Regions from separate parts of the Homo sapiens genome. Here region 1 is linked to region 2. Evidence: promoter capture Hi-C in 16 types of primary human blood cells and fetal thymus (Javierre and others, 2016). All regions are on one chromosome and are shown on one strand. The core of a region is centred on a gene start or on the middle of the fragment in contact, and the rest is flanking DNA. Distances in the headings are between cores, read along the strand shown. Region 1 overlaps CHD9 (chromodomain helicase DNA binding protein 9). Region 2 holds the start of RBL2 (RB transcriptional corepressor like 2).

The links. The method cuts DNA at HindIII sites, captures the fragments that hold promoters and counts their contacts. A CHiCAGO score of 5 or more calls a contact.
Region 1: a contact is called between a fragment that was not itself captured here and the fragment with the promoter of RBL2 in region 2, in 5 of 17 cell types (neutrophils, naive CD8 T cells, non-activated CD4 T cells and 2 more). The highest score is 10.5, in neutrophils.

The regions. Positions count from the first base shown.
Region 1 is chr16:53,155,535-53,159,630 of GRCh38, reverse strand. CHD9 (chromodomain helicase DNA binding protein 9) reads right to left here. Exons shown (of 39, transcript NM_001308319.2): 2 at 2,090-3,705. The coding sequence starts at 3,541. Among named protein-coding and RNA genes, the nearest start is that of CHD9, 100 kb to the right of the region's middle. The HindIII fragment of the contact is 1,371 bases long and covers 1,709-3,079 here.
Region 2 is chr16:53,432,382-53,436,534 of GRCh38, reverse strand. RBL2 (RB transcriptional corepressor like 2) reads right to left here and starts at 2,064. Exons shown (of 22, transcript NM_005611.4): 1 at 1,739-2,064. The coding sequence starts at 1,978. RefSeq lists an enhancer at 1,070-1,179 and a silencer at 1,790-2,009. The HindIII fragment of the contact is 5,814 bases long and covers 1-4,153 here.

The sequences.
Region 1 (4,096 bases), core at 1,145-3,644, 280 kb after region 2:
CTCAAAAAAGGAAAAAAGAAATAGAACTATAGTCAATCCAATGGGAAAGACAAAGATTTTTTCTTTTTCAAATACTTCAAGGCTTTAAAATGAAAAATGGATCCCTAAATATTTAATTTCAAGAACTTTGGTATATTTCATTGTCCACAGAATCTCACAGGTAACCAAGGTATTGAAGCATTTTATGAATCCTTAATTTAACAAGAGAATTTTTAAAAACATAAAATATTACATTAATTTTTTATTATAAAAGTAATATGTTCACGACAAAATTGTAGAAAGTAAGGGAAAAACTGCACTACTTAAACCTATTTTCTTCTGGTATTTTTTTCATATACAAATTTTCTTTTTTTCTCAGAGGGTCTGATTCTAATGCCTAGACTGGCAGTGGTGTGATCATGGCTTACCTCAGCCTGGAACTCCTGGGTTTGAGCTATCTGCTCACCTCAGCCTCTTGAGTAGCTGGGACTACAGGAGTGCACCATCATACCTGGCTAATTTTTTAAAAATGTATTTATTGTAGAGACAGAGTATCGTTACATGGTCCAGGCTGGTCTGGAATTCCTGGTCTCAAGCAATCCTCTCACCTCAATCTCCCAAAGTGCTGGGATTACAGGCATAAGCTAACATAACTGGCCCATATACATATTTTCATACTACTATGAAAAAAAGTATAATTAATAAAAACACTTAAGACTGGGCAGAGTGTCTCACGTCTATAATCCCAGCACTTTGGGAGGCCGAGGAGAGTGGACTGGTTGAGTACAGGAGCTCAAGATTAGCCCAGGCAACATGGCAAGATCACATCTTTACAAAAAATACAAAAAAAGCCAGGCATGGTGGCACATGCCTATAGTCCCAGCTACCCAGGAGGCTGAGGCAGGAGGATCACCTGAGCCCAGGGAGGTTGAGGCTGCAGTGAGCCCTGATGGTGCCACTGCACTTCAAACTGGGTGACAGAGTGAGACCCTGTCTCAAAAGAAAAATTAAAAAAAAACAAAAAAAAGTATTAATTTCTAACTATATGCTAGGCATAGTCTAAGCATGTTTACATGTTATAAATCTATTAATCCTTTATTATTTCACATTTTAAAGATGAGGAAAAAGAGACGCACGGAAATTATCTAAGTCAAAGTCACCCAACTACTAAGTAACAGGACCCACAATTCTAAACCAGGTAGTCTGGTATCAAAGGCCACACTCTTAACCTTACTTCACTGTGATCTTAATTTTGAATTACGCTCTTTTCTCCATCATTAACATATTCTCAATGTTAGTGTTCAAAATCTTTTTAGTGCCTATGGTCTATCGTGATTACAATAATGAGCTATGCTTTTTTCAGCTGTCCCTTGTAAGTATATTAAGACAAATATCTTTGGGTATATACTTCTGCTATGTCTGGGTTATTAAAATGGAGAATTTTTATATTCTTTAATCTAGTACCAAATTGCTTTTCAAAATATTTGCATTAATTAACAAAGCCATGTAGGTACCAATTTCACCATAAATTTGTCAGCATTAAGCATTAACATTTAACATGTTTTTCTAATAGGTAAAAATAAAACCATTCTAAATTTATTTTTTATTATTAAAGCTGCATATTATTCTGGTTTTGTTTACTAATTTAATTTCCTTTTTGTGAATTTCAGCTTATATGTTTTATCTAGTTATCAACTGAGGTCTTAAAAGTTTGCTAATTTATAAAGCTTTTTATAGGAATATTAACTCAATGTTAATTGTATTTGCAATAAAATTTTCCCAGTCTGGTTTTTCCCTTTTAATTATGATTATTAAGTTGTTTTTGATAAAATAACTTTCTCTCAAAGGTATTCATAAACATCACAAAAGAAGTCTTAACACCTTATAATTTTCTAAATATAGAAGCTAATCTATTGCTTTGAGCATATCAGTGAATCACTTTCAATACAAGACTTGTAAAACAATATAAACCTATATCAAAATATGTATGTTCACTTAATGGAATTACCAAGTTTGAGAAATCTTGACTATGTTTCATATAAAATTAACCCAATGACTAACAGTCCGCCCTACCCCCAAATCTCCAAAATAAAAGCAAAGAGCTACATACCTGTCGCTGTAAACATAGGTGATTTCTGTCATGTAAATGCTGATGATTAGAAAATGATGAATGCCAACTCCGAGCCTGACTTTGCAACTGAGTCTGAGCCATATCAGAAGGCCGTGTTACCAGATGCGAAGTAAACTGCCGATCAAGGTCATGATCTAAAATGTGACTTGAATTATCTTGTCCGAATGTTGACTCATCAAAGTGAGGAAGAAGACCCTCCTGAAGGAGGTCCTCGGGGTCAAGTCCTGTGAATGGCTCAGTTTGAGATTCCACTTGATGAAGTAAATTCTCTTCTAAAGATGAAAAGCCATTAGTTTCTACATGATCATTGAAATGGCCCATTTGAGTTCCTGAGTCAACAGGATCTGGGAAGTTCATGTGCACAGGAGATAATTTTGAATTGCTATAATTACCCTGAGGATGTGATGAATGCAATATTTGGAAATTATTTGAATTCAATGATGTATTGGGGTTTAGGATATGCTGAGTAGATTCTTGCTTGATTCCTCTATGAGGTGAAAAGGAATTACTTCCAGTAAAATCAGATAAAGTCTGATTTGTATGATTAGATGCAAGAACTGCAGAGGACTGAAGTAGACTGTTTGGTGATATATGATTACTGGAAAAGGAATAATGTGAAGAAAATTGCTGTGAATTACTGACAGAACAAGAAGTCATATTTGGGGAAGGTCCATTAAAATTTCCTTCTTGATGACTGCTACACTTGTGGAAGTGTGCTGAAGGATTTGACGTTTGAGAAAATTGCTGCATTGAAATAGACTGTTGTGAATTAGATGCATTAGTCATCTGTGGTGGGTGGTTAACATTGACTCTATGTGGACCAGAAACATTCATAAAATTTTTAGACTGGCTAAGAGAATTCTGCCCTGGGTTGAGATTATTTCTGTTTTGTTGTGAGCGTAGTGAAGTACACTGTGTTTGTTGTTCATTGGCCTGAAATAAGGCAAAGTCATGGTGTGCCACAAAGCTTTTATTTTGATGCATAGAGTGTGAATGTCCTTGTTGGTGAAAAGGAGATCCATTTTGATTTGAAATGGTAGTAGCTGTCTGATGGCCCCACATTGGACTGCCATCTGATACATCTGGAAACAAACCATTGGGTTGGTTTTGGGGATGGATTGGAGAACAATTAAACTGAGAGTGTGGAGATAACACATGTTCAGCTGGGCTACCAAAAGATTGATTAACATGGTGAAATTTTATTGAATCAAATTGATTTAACTGTTCAAAATCAGTCATCTTCTGATGTGTTGGAGTACCTTGAACATGGTTCAGTGAATCTATGTGCAACGGTTCAAATTCTGCACCCAAATTCAATTCATCAACTAGTGAAACAGGTCCTGGTTGTACAAATGCATCATCTGACAAACCTTCTAAGGTCTCACCAAAAAGATTGGCATCATCAAAAAAGTCCATCATTGGATCTGTCATCTTGAAAATTCTGTAACAATCCGGGCTGTTCACTCCAAATGGAGTATATTCAGCTTCTCTATAGTAGATATTATTGGATCATTTCCGAAGGTCATCAACTAATCCAAAACAGGTCAATATTCATTATTGCTCTAAATAATGACATGTCATGAAGTGTCAAAATCCTAGAAAAAAAGGAACAAAAACAATAAAGAGAAATTAAGTACTGATACATGCTACAACAAAAATGAACTCTGAAAACATTATGCTAAGTGAAAGAGGTCAGTCACAAAATACCACATATTATATGACTCGATTTATATAAAATGTCAAAAGTAGGCAAGTATATATAGAGAGAAAATAGATTAGTGGGTCACCTAGAGCTGGTGGCATGGTGGGTGGGTAGAAAGGACTGGTGATTGGTGAGTGATAGCTACAGGTTATGGGATTTCTTTTGGGGGTAACGAAAATGCTCTAAAATTGGTTATGGTAATGGATAAACAACTCTGAGTATGCTAAAAGCCACTAAATATACACTTTAGATGAATGAATTGTATGGTATCTGAATTATATCTC
Region 2 (4,153 bases), core at 815-3,314:
TGCTCTATATCCAGCACCTAGAACAATGTGTAGCAAGTAATAGGTGCTCAAGAAATATTTGATGAATATTTTACTGAGTAAATCATTTACTGAATAAACTGGGCTAAGAAGCTGAAACTAAAGTCTCAGTAATCAAAAGAATTGAGTAATCAAACATGTTTTCAAAAATAATTTACTAACCAGCTATTACGTGATACTTGCTCATGTATCACTAGACTTCATACAACTTAACTGCTATGAGTTGAAATACCTCAAATAAATGGCGATAATGCTTGTTCTATCTGATTTACAGGATTATCTTGAGGGTAAAATAAGAGCTTGTTTGGAAGCCTTTAAGGCCATTTACCAAAAAAAAACCCAAAAAACAAAAAACAACATAAAAAGCCAACCAGTCCTTCTCTTTGCCAGACTACAGAAAGGCACTGAGAGATGAATAGGAACATAGCTTACTCAGCCAGATCATGTAAATATACAAAGAGCTTAGTAAACTTGAAAACACTGTCCATATGGGTGCTTTATGTGCCAGAAACTACATTATTGCCTTATTTAATCTTCAGAACAGCTCTGTGAGGTAAACACAAATATCTCCAGTTTAGAGATCACCATACTGAACTTTTCCAGCGGTTTCAGGTCTGTCGGGTTCTAAAGCCACCATACACTATCTTCTGCAGACCTAACAATTCAAAGAGGGAACTAGTAATTGAATTAAAATTCTATTAATGCAAATACAAATTAAAAATAACCTCACTCATCAGTACACATAGCCAAAAACATCATATTTAAATAATACCTTGGTTAGGCTTTGCATCCTGGACCTATTTGCCCGACTCTTTCTACAAATTAATTATAAAACGACTTGAGAAATCAAATGGCCTCAGGTTTAAATGCCACACACACAGTCAAACAGCTGATAAACAATCCGTACTTCCGTGTCACTTCCCATTGGCCCATGAAGGGGAGGTGCATACAAAGCTGACACTCACTGGCTAGAATGGCCATTTTTCTCATCTGCAAGCCCTGTCCGAAGGCTGCGACCTAACACACCCGGATCGCAACAACAACAGGAGTCCTGTGCAATGCCCGGGGTGACCAAAAAGCCCTCGAGGTAGCCACAGTCCTGATCCTAGTGACAAATGGGGGCATGTGTCTACATCCGGGTCGGCGGAGGGCTCATTTCATCTGGCCTGGGGGGAAATGAGTATTAATTTGTTTACACAGACGTAAACACAGCCCAAAACGCATCAGCACGTTGACTCAAACGCCCGCAACGCCAGGGCAAAGGCAATTTGGTTAACAGGGGGAAGCGAACAGACGGAGACGCCTGGAGACCCAGGTGCCACAACCCGGTTAATCGCGGTGCAAATAAGGGCAAGTCCCCTCCCCTTGTCCGTGTGGTCTTGACAACGACACTAGTTCATTCTACTAACAAGGCGGGCGGGGGGTCAGATGGGCCACACACACCCATTTTCCTCAACGGGACCCCAGCGCGATCTCAGCCTTGCTGTGCTACTTTAGGGCAAGACGCGTTCCCCATTCGGAAGCCGCAGGAAAGCGCGGCGAGAGCGGGTTAGCCCTCGGAGCGGCTAAGAGCCTCGGAATAGCGCAGAGGAAGTCCCCACCCCTCTCGGGGCTGGGAGCCCGCAACCCGCCCGAGAGTCTCTCGAGGCGCGCGACGCGGCTCGGAAGGCACCGGTTCACGCCAACTAGGCCGGAAGCGCCCCTCCGCCCGCGAGCGCACCTCCAGCGTGTAGCTTTCGCTCATGCTGCGGTAGCTGTCCCAGGCCTCGGCCCGCGCCGCCTCGTCCATGTTGAGGCGGCTGCACAGCTCGTCGAACCGCTGCTGGATCTGAGGGGTGGGCGACTCGGCAGGCGGCGCGGCGTCTTCCGCCTCGCCGTCGTCCTCCTCCTCCTCATCCGAGGCTGCCGCCGCCGGAGGGGGAGGCGGGGGCGGTGGCGACTGGTCACCTCCCGACGGCATAGCGCACCCCTGGGCGGCCGGACCTCAGGTGAGGTGAGGGCCCGGGCCCGCAGCCATTCAAACGGCGAAGCGCCCGCCCGTCCGCCGCCCGCACCGCGCCTGCGCCGCCGCAAACGACGCTGACCGCCTGCAGGCACCCGTAGTCTTGAGCACGGGCTGCTGGGAAACGTAGTCCAGGCCGGCGGTTCAAGGGGGCCAAAAATCATGTTTAAAAAAATTAGCTCCCCTAGTTTCACCAGGGGTGAAATAAAAGCACCTTCCCCGCATTTTAAACACGTACCTCCCCACCGTGAGAACATTCAACAGGGCTGTACTGACGAGAAAATGTCCAAAAGACACTGACGTGTGAAGGTTTCGTATCCAGGCTGTTCCCAGAAGTAAAACTTCCTCATCGCCTGGATATCCTTATCTAAAAAATAGGGATAATAGCAAGGGCCTGTCTCTGTACGTTCACGAAACTGCCTTTGCAAAAATCCTAACAGTGAGAAAGTTATGACAGTGCAAGGGATCTGACCTAAATGACTCCACGCTTCTCACTTCCGAGCTGCCCTTGTTCATTCCTGGGCGAAGACCTAACTAACTACAGGAGGAATTTAATTTCTAATTTCACTTTGAAACAAAGATTGTAACAGTCCTTTCCAAAAACAAACCCCATTCTTGCCTGGGGATCAGTCTGCCTTTGTAGAACTAACAAATTAGCCACAAGATTAGAAATTATGATTTAGGAGGCTTGCAGCCAGAGGCTATAAGATTCCTGACCTCCCCAATTGCTCTCAGGGATAACATCACTATTGTAAAACCTAAGATTGGTGCTGGAGATACTTTTCAGACCGCGCATTCCGATGCACTAGCTGGCGCCACTCAGACCATAATCTGGCTCAACAAGTTCTGCAATTCCACTCAGTAACAGAAGACAGCAAGAGCCCACTTCAACCCCCTGTGATTTCACCTCCCACCTGACAAATTAGCATTCGCCAATCCCTGGCCCCCTACCCGCCAAGTCATTCTTTAAAAACCCCAGTCTCCGAATTTTCTGGTAGGCTGATTTGAATAACCAAACTCCTGTCTGCCGTTCAGCTGGCTCTGCGTGAATTAAACTTTTTTTTTTTTTTTGAGACAGAGTCTGGCTCTGTTGCCCAGGCTGGAGTGTAGTGGCACGATCTCGGCTCACTGCAACCTCCGCCTCCTGGGTTCAAGCGATTCTCCTGCCTCAGCCTCCTGAGTATCTGGGATTACAGGTGTGCGCCACCGCACCCAGCTAATTTTTGTATTTTCAGTACAGGCAGGGTTTCACCATGTTGGCCAGGCTGGTCTCGAACTCCTGACCTCAAGTGATCCACCCACCTCGGCCTCCCAAAGTTCTGGGATTACAGGCGTGAGCCACCGTGCCCAGCCAATTCATTTTATTTCCAATTCTCCTTTCTTTATTTTAATTTTTTAAATTGCCAATCCTTGATTTATAAATGGGCTTGATATAAAACATTTTCCAGATTGAGGAGCAATCTGAGGATTGAGCAATTTGAGGATTCAGAAGGCATTACTGTTTTGCTATTTTTGTTTTGCTTGGTGGGATATGTAAACTGACAGAGGGAAAAGTGCTGGGACAAAAGTAGGGGCTTATGGAAGGTATAATGACAGGCGGGAGGACAGGAAATGGAACTCTGAAGATAGGAGAAAATCAGGTAGACAGGTAACAGGATATTTCAGGAACAATTTTGAGACAATGGAACCCTCTTAAGAAAACCTTAGTAAAATTCACAGTAATCAGCAATGCTTTTGGAGTTGGCTAAGTGATGAGTCTCAAGGTGACTATGGGGCAAGAACAGAAGTTGAACACAAATGGTTTAGAAGTATCTTAAGTATATAGGCTGGACGTTGTGGATCACACCTGTAAATCCAGCACTTTGGGAGGTCAAGGTGGGAGGACTGCTTGAGTACAGGAGTTCGAGACCAGCCTGGGCGACATAGTGAAACCCTGTCTCTACAAAAAATAGAAAAATTAACCCAGAGTGGTGGTACACGCCTGTAATCCTAGCTACTTGGGAGACTGAGGTGGGAGGAACGCCTAAGCCTGGGGAGTCTGCAGTGAACTGTGACCATGCCACTACAGCTTGGGCAACAGAGACCCTGTCTCAAAAAAATAATAATAAATAATTTGGCAAGGCGCGGTGGCTC